Regions from separate parts of the Homo sapiens genome. Here region 1 is linked to region 2. The links are contacts of gene promoters, found by promoter capture Hi-C in human tissues and cell types (Jung and others, 2019). All regions are on one chromosome and are shown on one strand. Each heading gives the region's core, a stretch centred on a gene start or on the middle of the fragment in contact. The rest is flanking DNA. Distances are from core to core; before and after follow the strand shown. Region 1 overlaps PBX3 (PBX homeobox 3). Region 2 holds the start of PPP6C (protein phosphatase 6 catalytic subunit).

Region 1 (6,099 bases), core at 1,149-3,648, 560 kb after region 2:
CAAAGAGTACTTTTCCTGGTTTTCATTCACATATTATGGCTGGTTTCTTAATGCTCAGTGATCCTTTCTTGAATTACTAACTTTTATTTTGTGTTGATTTTTAGCTACCTTTAGAAAGCGTTTTGATTTAAAGCAGTAGATAATTTTTATCTGACTGTAAAATAAGACATCTAGCATTCAGTCTTGAAGATTCTTAGTTTAGAAGCTTAAAAGTATGCAATTCTCAGTAAATTCTGATGCTTAGTGTCCAAGGGTTTTCCTGCTATCAGGGCTCCACTTCAGTTTCTGCTGACAGCCAAGCACTGGGGTATTGACTATGTTGTGAATATTAAGATTGATTCGACTTTATACAGCCTTATATTACTAGGGAGAGGGGATGGATACTTATCGCTTCTCATCCCCTTCTCATTATTTGTATTTATTTATTTATTTTTGCCTTTTTAAAGTTTTGGCCTAGCTAGCTTGAGAACTAAACCCAGCAAACTGCTTTTCATGTTGAGACATTTAGCAGCAGGCAGAATTCAATTAGGAAGCATAAGTCCTTTAGTTGCTTATTTGCACAGGACTTAGTTACACCATTCTGAAAGGAAAGTATAGTCAACCACATGTCAAAGGTGAGTTACGAAAAAGAAACAAATCTTTTCAAAGTCTGGGATTACTGGCAGAGAGAGCTTTGGTAGGGCTATTGCTATTTAAAAACCAAGAGGCAGCTGACAAAAGAAATTTTTGTGTTTTAAAATTGTTTCTGGGGCTTTCAGTGATAACTTGTAAATTAGATTCTCTTTTTGTGCTTTGGCCAGTGGATCCACATTTGCACGTTATCTCTTTTGTAAAAAGCCAACAGCCGACAAAGAGTAAAGGCGGCTGTCTGGGTAGAGGCATCTTCCTGCTAGCCTCTCTAAGCTCGAGAGGGATGGGATTTAAGTACTGAGTGATTGATGGGGGTGAAGCTCTTTCTCTTCTTTCCATTCTCCCCTACTACCCATAGCTTCACCTCACTCTCCAAAACTAGTCTTAGAATGAGACAGGGACTCAGAATCCTCAATTCGAAATAAAACAGCTGTGTAGACATTAGTGTTACCAAAGCAAAGAAAGCGGGGCTGCAAATTCCAAGCCCCCCCACTCCTGCTTCCATAGTCGGTCATGCTTTAGAAACATGAACTTATAAAAGAAACATTGTAGAATATATGTATATTGCATAAATATTTTTTAAAAATCATTTTATTTAATCTAATAATACCTAAAAATTAATTCTTTGTAATTTAGAGAAAGTTTACCTAGTCATTTATGAATAGAAACCAGAAACATTATGTTGATGACTCTATTCTGCTTAATGAAGGGGGTTGAGGGTGAACTGTCATTTCAGTGGATAATGTCATTTCAGTTGTGCTTTTCTTCTAAAACAAAACAAAATCATTTTAAAAAAAATCTGTTTATTTGTAGCTCTGCCAGTGGATTTTGAGGTTTCTGATCAGGCAGTGAACACTGCCAGTTCTTATGCACATGGGGGATTTAGTTTAGAAAACATCTGTTTCCCCCTCTACCATATATGAAAAGGTATTTTTCCCTTCTGACAGATAAATGGGTAATCTACTACAATTATATTATTTTCTTGTTGAGAGGTAAGGAAAGTATACTTCTACTATAAGATGCTGCTTTTTCTTGAGAATATATTCTTTCGTAAAATTGATCATACCATTATTTTTGGGCAGAAATGTCTCTCATTGTTGAATTGTGATATTTGTGCATTTTGAGAGCACCCAAAAAGTTGTAGGCTTTAAAATAAAAATAGTTGTTTATTTTAAACCAAGTAACCAGTGAGATTATTGTTGATATGTTAAGATTTTTCTCCTGATTTTTAAAGCCATATTTTATCATCTGTCTCTTATTAAATATCCCTGATGCCACAAGGTCTGCTCACCTGCATACCTCTTTTGGTGTATGCCCCCACCTCTTTTTGGTCATCTTAATCTTAATTGTTGAAGTGCTTTCCTTTGTGAAATATTTCATCCTGAAAAATCTTGTCTTCTTTCCAAAGCCCTTAATTGTGCGAGTTTAAGTGAAGGAAATAGTTCTTTTTCAAGAAAAAAATATTTATTTTTTAAATGAAATCCCACATTTTAGTAGATAATATGAATCACATTATTGTGAAAAATGTTATGCATGAAAAAAAATAAACACAACCTTTTCCTTTTCAAATAATAGGTTAAAATACTCCATGTTGATGGCTGCCAACCAAACTCTGATTTATTGCCACCACAAACCCTAAATAGCGTTCATTTACTAGTAATGTCTAATGGCATACATGATGGTTTGCCAGATTTGTAGCCTTTGTGAGGCTTATAAGTAGGACTGACTTGGGAAGATCATAAAACTTAATGAACTTCTCTACTGCAGGAGGTGTCCGCAGGGGAAGAGAAAGGCCTGCTTGGTTGGTTGGGCTGGTTGAAGTATTTTTTATGTTTAAGGAGAAGAAAATGACTAGTAAAAATGCCTTACTTTTAAAGGAACCCTCCCTAGAAAGAGTCATAAGAATTTTAGATATTAAAACTAGATCAAGAGTATAGTTTACAAGTGAGGTTTTATGTGCATTTAGTATATGATGTGAGATTAAACCTTTTATCTTTATTGCTAGAAGTGTGACTAGCTTTCAAAGAGACAAGGCAGTACTGTCATTCGACACCTCTCTATTTAATTGTGAACCCACAGGTTTAGAGACTCTTTGGAGTCTTTTTTTGGTGTGCTTCTCTTTTTAAGGTTTCAATATAAAAATCTGTTACATTTTTCTTTGTACAGTGCTGTGTGATTCTTTTAATTCTACATATGTAAAAATCAATTTTTTCAAGTGAAAATTTAGCAAGAAAGGTGAAAATTGTTATATATTAGTCTAAATGTTATTATATATTTTGCATATGCTTTTAAGTTGCTCTTGCACTATTTCCAATATAATTATCATCTTTTGTTTCAAGTTTTAAAAACAAATGCACTGTTCCATACATGATTCCTTTTTGTGTTTTCATGAAACACATTTTGTTTTAATGAACTTATTTTCAAGATTTTAACAACTTTTTATTGTGGACACCTTTGAAACATAACATGCAGAGAGCAGAGACTCTTGAACCTCCCATGAACTCAGTGCCCATCTTCAGCAATTAGCAATACTTGGCCAGTCGTGTTTTCTCTGTAATTCCCACCATTCCAAAATTATTTTGAAGCAAATTTTAATGGTTCTTTAATGTTTTAAGTTTCATATCAATTTTAAGCATTAGGTCTGCTTATATTGGAAATATTAAGTGATTAAACAGGAAAAATACAAAGTCAGAGTATCTTGGAAATGTTATAAATTATATTGCTTTATCAATATATTTTTCTTAACTTAATATTTTACCTTTTTTTTTTTCTATTTTTATAGATTTGGTATCTTACTGGAGCTTTTGTAGGAGGTTTTCAGAGAAGTTGTAAAAGAAAGGGATTTTTCTACTTCTTTATTCTTCCATTTCCATCCTAACAAAATAGCACATATAATACATTTGTAGAAAACCTGGAGAAAAATCTCATTGCCAAGCTGGTTTAGAACCTCATGATCTAAAGTATCATGTGGATATTATCTTTAAAATATAGAGACATTTTCCAATCCTGTTCTTTATTTTTTTCTTCCCAATAAAAATGTATTGAACTCTCTTGTCAATACTAACTTGATCTGTGCAAGTAATTCTTTTGTTCCTTAGTTTTAATGACCCTCATTTTATTACAGATTTGAATAGTTTTGGTATTTTATTTGGGACTTTACTATGTTATTTTATTAATTTACATAATTTTATTCTGAATTAGAAGTCTTTTAATACACTAGCAAAGGAGGCCCCGACTTGCCCCAAAGAGCACACTGGTTGATCGGCTTTCATAAAATGTACTTGTCTACATTTTTCATACTATGATGCTTTTCCTTTTAATTAATTTTGCCTGTATATTTCCATCTCAATTTATAAATTTTGTAAAAGGTTACTTCTGAGGCAAATTTAAATTAACGTATTAGTTGGATTATTTATATTTTGATACTTTATAGTGGCATGGTATAGGATGAAGTTACATTATATGAAGTGGGACTATAAGAATTGAAACTGCATTTCGTGAACCACACCCTAAGTCAGTCATCACTTTATTTTGTACTCTACCCTGAGGTATCTATTTAGAATAAATGCTTAACACATCAGCACTAACACATCAAGTTATATAAGGTTTTAGATTATCTTTTCCCTATTCGTGTTTGTGAACATCTTTAGATATTTATTAGTTCAATATTGACATTATGAGAATAATGTTTTGTTTTCTCAGCAGTCTTGTGTTTTAGCCATTTATCAGTGTGATCAGCATGATTTAGGTATTAACTGACTAACAAAGCTTACACATTACCACCACCTCCCCCTCAAGCCCGTGTTGACCTTTTCAAGCATTTGCTCTACTTCAGTAGGCCATTTGAGTCTTCAAGTATGAAGAGAGTAAATAATTTATATCACTATGTAGTATAAATTGGTAAAAGTTTTTCAGAACTAGCTATCTGATTTTTTACAAAGTTATTGAAGTTAATCAGACAAATTGCTATCACATCTAGTTGACAGTGCTATATTTAGCAAATAATAAGTAATTCTTGAATGAGCTACTGAAAAAATAAACCACCTTTTTATGCCTTCAAACTCAGAACATATTAAAAAATAAATTTCATTAATCTTCAACACTTGATTCTAATTATCCCTTTTGTAGGCAGAATTGCAACAAGAATTTCTTCTGTATTATTTTTTCATAGATATATTCCATAGTATAATATGTTTGTAGGTTTTAATGGTAACTAGTTTACTTTGGCACTAAATTTGAGTGTATATCTAGCAAAAAAATTGGTGTGATAGAATGTATCAAACTGAATTGGCGTAACTTTTTTTGTATAACTGTCTACGTAATAGTAACAGGTTAGTATGAAAGCAATTAAAAATATTTATGGATAAAAATAATTGTTAAAAGTTTTCTACTTCTTTCAACTTAAGTGCTTTAAAAATGTTAAGCTGTTTAGACAATAACTCTTTTTTAGTGATCATATTAATGAGGACTTGGTATACAATGTAATCCTTTTAATGCTGATGAGTCCTCACAATGTTTAAACCATTATTTGTGAGACTCAACATGTTATGGCAAAATGATTTTTTGTTTGTTTTGTTTTCTTTTATGTGATACATCAGTTTTCAAAGCATATTTCTTAGGCTTCAGAGTCCAGCAGGTGGCTTTTTACATTAAAAAATTCATAAATTTTAAAATCCCATAAAATTTTATTTCAAATTCAAATTAACTAATTGAGAATGTCAACATTTTCACTGTCTCTATATTAACATTTATAATAGAACAAATGGTTGCATATAGAAATTATCTGCAACAGTCTAAATTAAGATTCTAAACAGGCATTACAGATGCTGGTAACTTTGGCAATTATCATTTTGTTTGGTGAACAGTAGTAAAACAGTGTGCGGTAAAAGTGTTTAGAGAGAGAGGATAAATAAATTGAACAGTTTTGCAATGCAAAGTGGTTTGTGGTGTTTTTGAGGATTTCTTGGCTCTCTCTTAACTGCTATTGTGAGCCTGGAGCAGATTTCCCCATTGCTAATGCCCTAGAAGTATTAATTCACTTTGATATGCTAATTAGAGGGCATTATGCAAGAAATGAGATTAAGTGGCAGCATGAAGCCATTTGCCTGTCAGTAAATTGAGAGCTTTAGCATCAGGAGGAGCTTTGTTTTTTTTTTTTTTTTTTTTTTGAGTTTCTCTTGGTTTTGCATATAAATAAAATTGATTGAAAGGTCTAGAGAAGCTTCCAGAACATTGGTGGATTCTTTTTTCCCCCTCCTATGATTATTTAAATGAAATGTTACAGGATTTTTCTGAATATTAATTGACCTAATTGGAGATACTGAATATAAAGTTTTTATTGTAATGTTTCTGTATAAAAATATACTAAAATTTTTGTGTCACCTAGTCTTTTTTTTCCTAAAACATAATTTCATTAACATGGCTAATGAACTGTTTATCACTTATCTCTTCTCAGAAGTGTAAACTTCT
Region 2 (6,261 bases), core at 572-3,071:
GCACGTGTGGCCTCAAATATTATGCATACTTGTTGACTGATGTTAAGTATCAACTTACTGTACAAAGAAGAAATAAAACAAAACCCACAGTAATATATTTCCTTAAGAATACACTGAGTCGGGGCTGGGCACGGTGGCTTACGCCTGTAATCCCAGCACTTTGGGAGGCCGAGGCGGGCGGATCACGAGTTCAGGAGATCGAGACCATCCTGGCTAACACGGTGAAACCCCGTCTCTACTAAAAATACAAAAAATTAGCCAGGCGTGGTGGCGGGCACCTGTAGTCCCAGCTACTCGGGAGACTGAGGCAGGAGAATGGCGTGAACCCGGGAGGCGGAGGTTGCAGTGAGCCGAGATGGTGCCACCGCACTCCGGCCTGGGCGACAGAGCGAGACTCCGTCTCAAAAAAAAAGAATACACTGAGTCGGTTAAATACTAGCACGAGCTGATAAGCACTGCTAGAAACCTAAGCTCTGATTTCAGCAAATGCATAGAAACACTTTTCAAAGAAGCAGTATACCTAGGCCGGCGCGGTGGCTCACGCCTGTAATACCAGCACTTTGGTAGGCCGAAGCGGGCGGATCACTTGAGGTCAGGAGTTCAAGACCAGCCTGGCCAACATGGCGAAACCCCGTCTCTACTAAAAATACAAAACAGCCGGGCGTCGTGACGGGCGCCTGTAATTCCACCTAGTCGGGAGGCTGAGGCAGGAGAATCGCTTGAACCCGGGAAGTGGAGGTTGCAGTGAGCCAAGATCGCACCGCTGCACTCCAGCCTGGGTGACAGAGTGAGACTCTATCTCAGTTAAAAACAATAATAATAATAATAATAATAATAATTAAAAAGTTTTAAAAAAGAAAAGCAGTATACCAAAGTCATTCCTTTACCCATACATACATTTACTCTTACTTGGACTCAGGAGTAACAAGGAACTCACCTCCTTTAGAAAACGAAGAAAATGAAATACTGAGTTAAGAAGGGGTTAAGGAGAAAGTATTTGTATTTATTGAGAACCAACTACTTTATCCACTTCAGTAAGCTCAACAACATACTCAGAAACGGGATTCACCTCTGAATTAGCAAAACCGACGATCCTAAAAAGCAATTTGGAGGAGTGGCAATGAAGAGGGACGACCTGACGTTCGCTCCCGCCAGTACCAAACCACTCGGGCCCACCGCCTTCCCCTTCCTCAGAGACCTAAACACACTGAGGCCGCGTTCCGGTAGCCGGTGGCATCTCCTGTCAGACGCCGGCCACTCCGCGCTCCTGTCACCTCCGGTGGAGGCGACCCCATCCCGAGGGCACTGCCGCGGGGGCTCGGCTCCGACTGCGGGAGACCCAGGGATGGGGTGGGGAGCCGAGCCTTCTAAATAAAGCTGTTACAGCTGCGGGTCCTGGGGCAGCCCGAAGGCCAGAAGGGGCGACCCTGGGACAGAGGCCGCGACATCCCTCGGGATCCCCACTGAGGCAACCGGGACAGCATTCGACGACTCGGCTCGCGAGACCCTCGGCGTGACGCCGGGTAGGACCGGGTCGACTGGCAATGGGGGAGGCCCTCCACCGCGACTGGACTGGATACCCGGCGGGGGTCCTGGAGAAAGGAAGGGCCGGCCGGCGGGCGCCCCACAGCCGGAAGGGGCGAGCCCGCAAATAGGGCTCACCTTCAGGTCGTTCTCTGGCAGGTACTTGCACAGCCGCGCTATTTCCACATACTTGTCCAGGTCTAGCGGCGCCATTTTAAGAATAACAAGCCGCGGCAACAGCGGCGGCGGCGGCTGTAGCAGCGGCGGCGGCAGCGGCGGAGGCCGAAGCCGGAACTTTCCCTGCGTCACGTCCGGCCCGTGAGTGGCGCCTGCGCAGCGCCGTTAAAGCGCGACCCGTTTCTCCCCGCTACGTCGGTACGCCCGGCGCCCCCTCTGGCTGAACCCCGACTGCAGGCCCCAAGAGAGCCCGCTTCGGTCCACCCCGCGAAACCTGCTGGGACCCGTAGTCGTCTGCCGCGGGGGTGCTGGGATGTGTAGTTTTCTGTTGTGGACAGCCACCCCTCTCTTTTCCTCCCGTTCCTCCAGACTTTCACCTCCCGGCAGCCGGCGAGGCTTTTCCGAGGCAAAACAGCGGAGTAGGTGGTCCTAGCCACTCACTGGTTTGTTTTTCCAACCCTTTTAAGCACTCTCCAGAATATCTTCACTTAACAATTGGGTAAGCCTGGCCGTAGTAACCGTTTGCACCTTTCCAAGTCCCTGTGAAAACCTCGCCTAAGCCTGTGGCAGAGATGTCAGGCCCCAGTCTTCCAGCCTGAAAGGAAGGGAAACGAATATTATTAAAGCATTTCTGATGCTAAATGCGATACAAATGATATTTTTCCTTTTAATCTTCGTAACGATTGATAGGAAAGTGAGGCTAGGAAACTGCAGTTCACCCCAAATCTCACAGGGAACAAAATGGTGGGGTCAAGATTGAAAAATGGCTTAAGCTTAAGCATGCTTCCAGTGAGAATCCCACGAGGGCAGGGAGTTTTTTGCTGTAACTCCAGCACCGAGAACAGTACCTGGTACTAGCATACCTTCAGCGTTCGTTTATCCAACCACTCTTTGCTGAGCAACAAAGATGTGCCAGGTACAGCTCAAGGCGCTTGCAGTACTTCGTGAACAAAATAGACAAAGATCTCTATTCTATCTGTAGCTACAAAAAGTACCAAAATTAGCCTGGCGCGGTAGTGCGTGCTTGTGGTCCCAGCTACTCTGGAGGCTGAGGCAGGAGAACCGCTTGAGTTGGGAGGCGGAGGTTGCAGTGAGCTGAGATCGCGGCACTGCACTCCAGCTTGGGCGACAGAGCGAGATCCTCCTCAAAAATAAATTAGTAAAAGGAGCTGCTGTATGGGACTAGGGGTGGGGGTGCAATGCCTATAGCTAAGAGACCAGTTAAGAGACTGTTATGTAATCCAATAGTAGCAGGCGCTCAATAAATATTTGTTGCTCAAGAGACCCTGGAATTAATCCTCTTGCTCTCTAAAGTATATTTTGTGGACAATTGGCTAACCCTGAATGAGATATCTGGGTGAACTTCTTTGTATTATTCTTGTAACTCCTCTGAAAGTATGAAATTGTTTCAAAGTAAAATTAATTTTTAGAAGTTTGTTGCAGAATGAATGATGCCCACAAGCATTCATTTCTTCATTCATTAAACTAATAGTTACATAGTGCCTATTGGCCAGGCCGCGGTGGCTAATGCCTGTAATCTCAGCACTTTGGGAGGCCAAGGCAGGCAGATCACCTGACGTCAGGAGTTCAAGACCAGCCTGGCCAACATGCCGAAACCCCATCTCTACTAAAAATACAAAATACTGGGGAGGCTGAGGCAGGAGGATCACTTGAATTGCTTGAGGCAGAGGTTGCAGTGAGCTGAGATGGCGCCACTGTACTCCAGCCTGGGCCACAGAGTGAAACTCCATCTCAAAGAGAAAAGAAACCAGAGGTTACACAGTGCTTATGATGTGAATAAAACAGATATGATCCCTGCCCTAATCAGGCTTACAATCTGCTGGGAAGAGACAAACAGTATTTATTTATTTATTTACATTTACTGGTTTATTATTAATATAAAGGATATTACAAAGGATACAAATGAAGAGATGCATAGGGTGAGGTAATTAAAATTTTTGTTTTTGTTGAGGCCGGGTGCAGTGGCTCAAACTTGTAATCCCAGTAGTGAAGCCAAGGTGAGCAGATATCTTGAGGCTAGGAATTCAAGACCATCCTGGCCAACATGGTGAAACCTGATCTCTACTAAAAATACAAAAATTAGCTGGGCATTGTAGCACATGCCTGTAATCCCAGCTACTCCGGAGTCTGAGGCATGAAAATTGCTTTGAGGTGGGGGTTACAGGGAGCTGAGGTCGTGCCACTGCACTCCAGCCTGGCCAACAGAAAAAAAAAAAAAATTGTTGAGGTGAGGTCTTGCTGAGGCTGGTTTTAAATTCCTGGCCTCAAGCTATTCCGCTGCTTTGGCCTCCCAAAGTGCTGGGATTATACGTGTAAGCCACCATACCTGGCAGTGAGCAAATATTTAATTGCAAATTGTGATTAGTACTCAAAAGGGAAAATAGGAGGTACTATAAGCAAGAAAAATGGAGTAGACGAGGTCTACCTTTGGCTGGGCACAGTGGCTCACGCCTGTAATCCCAGCATTTTGGGAGACCGAGGCGGGCAGGTCTTTTTGAGGTCAGGAGTTCCTGACCAGCTGAGATCCCACCACTGCACTCTAGCCTGGGAGAGAAAGTGAGACCCTGTCTAAAAAAAAAAAAAAAACAAAAAACTACATTTTCTTACCTGTACTTGTGTCCTTTGGGGGAAAAAAAAGGGCCCAGCATGGTGGCACACGCCTGTAATCCCAGCACTTTGGGAGGCCGAGGCGGACGGATCATGAGGTCAGGAGTTTGAGACCAGCCTGGTCAATATAGTGAAACCCTGTCTCTACTAAAAATACAAAAAATTAGCCGGGTATGGTGGTGTGTGCCTGTAATCTCAGCTACTTGGGAGGCTGAGGCAGGAGAATTGCGTGAACCTGGGAGATGGAGGTTGCGGTTGCAGTGAGCTGAGATAGCGTCATTGCACTCCAGCCCGGGTGACAATGCAAGGCTCCGTCTTAAAAAAAAGAAAAAGAAAAAAAGAAAGAAAGAAAAAGAAAAACTTAGCCTGGTGTGGTGGCACGTGCCTGTGATCCCAGCTACTCAGGAGACTGAAGCAGGAGAATCACTTGAACCTGGGAGGCAGAGGTTGCAGTGAGCCGAGATCGCACCACTGCACTCCAGCCTGGACAACAGAGCGAGACTCCGTCTCAAAAAAAAGAGGCCTACTTTAGGTTGATAACACAGAGGAGGTAAAGTACAGGATGTAGCTTCTAGCACCATGTGGGCAGAGTTCAAATACAGGCTCTACCACTTATTGTGTGATTTTGGTTTGGAGAAGTTATTTATCCTTTCTGTACTCCAGTTTTCTCAGCTCCAATATGGAGATAATAATAATGCTTACCTCCTCTGGAGATTGTAAGAATACTACTTACCTCATAGGCTTGTACAAAGGTTTAACAGAGTTGGTATATGAAAATGGCTTAAAACAATGTCTGGGCCGGGCACAGTGGCTCATACTTGTGATTCCAACACTTTGAGAGGCCAAGGCAGGAGGATCACTTGAGCCAAGGAGTTCAAGACCAGACTGGGCAACATAGTGAGACCTCATCTCTACCAAAAAAAAAAAAAAATTAAAATTAGCCAGGTTTGGTGCTGGCACATACCTGTAGACCCAGCTACTCTAAAGACTGATGTGGGAGGATCACTTGAGCCCAGGAGGCCAAGGCTGCAGTGAGCTGTGATTGTGTCACTGTACTACATCAGGGTGACAGTGAGACTCTGTCTCAAAACAAAAAACAAAGACAAAAAAACATTGTCTAGCACAGAGTGAGTGCAATATGAGTGTTAACTCTGAGTATTAGGTGGGCAGGAAAGGCATTTCTGAAGGTGTAACATGTAAGACTTCAGAAAAAAAAATGTAGGAGGCTGGGCATGGTGGCTCACGCCTGTAATCACAGCACTTTGGGAGGCCCAGGCGGGCAGATCACTTGAGGTCAGGAGTTCAAGACAGGCCTGGTCAACATGGTGAAACCCCGTCTCTACTAAAAATACAAAAATTAGCCAGGCATGGTGGTGCATGCCTGTAATCCCACCTACTGGGAAGGCTGAGGCAGGAGAATCGCTTGAACCCGGGAGGCAGAGGTTGCATTGAGCCGACATTGCGCCACTGCACTCCAGACTGGGTGACAAAGCGAGACTCCATCAAAAAGAAAGAAAGAGAGAAAGAGAGAGAGGGAGGGGAGGGGAGGAAAAAAAGGCAGGACAGGTGCAATGACTCATGCCTGTAATCCCAGCACTTTGGGAGGCTGAGGTGGGCAGATTGCTTGGGCCCAGGAGTTCGAGACCAGCCTGGGAAACATGGCAAAACCCCATCTCTACAAAAAATATAAAAATTAGCCGGGCATGCTGGCATGTGCCTGTAGTCCCAGCTACTCAAGAGGCTGAGGCGGGAGGATTGCTTGAGCCCCAGAGGCGGAGGTTGCAGTGAGCCAAAGTTGTGCCACTGCACTCCAGCCTAGGCAACAGAGTGAGACCCTGTCTCAAAAAAAAAAAAGGAAAAAAAGGTAAAGGGATAATCTGCTCAGAATTTCTTGGAGAAAAAAATTCAAATGGAAGAAGATGCTGTTCTTGT

Evidence for each region. Contacts are between HindIII fragments. The study calls those that stand out against the background at their distance.
Region 1: a fragment that was not itself captured here is called in contact with the fragment with the promoter of PPP6C in region 2 in 1 of the 25 tissues and cell types used here (dorsolateral prefrontal cortex).

What each region holds. Positions count from the first base shown.
Region 1 is chr9:125,749,897-125,755,995 of GRCh38, forward strand. All of the region lies in intron 2 of PBX3 (PBX homeobox 3), which reads left to right. Among named protein-coding and RNA genes, the nearest start is that of PBX3, 5.6 kb to the left of the region's middle. RefSeq lists an enhancer at 4,759-6,099. The HindIII fragment of the contact is 5,452 bases long and covers 1-5,124 here.
Region 2 is chr9:125,187,982-125,194,242 of GRCh38, forward strand. PPP6C (protein phosphatase 6 catalytic subunit) reads right to left here and starts at 1,822. Exons shown (of 7, transcript NM_002721.5): 1 at 1,663-1,822. The coding sequence starts at 1,737. RefSeq lists enhancers at 1,144-1,930, 1,931-2,717, 2,020-2,099. The HindIII fragment of the contact is 9,567 bases long and covers 1-5,072 here.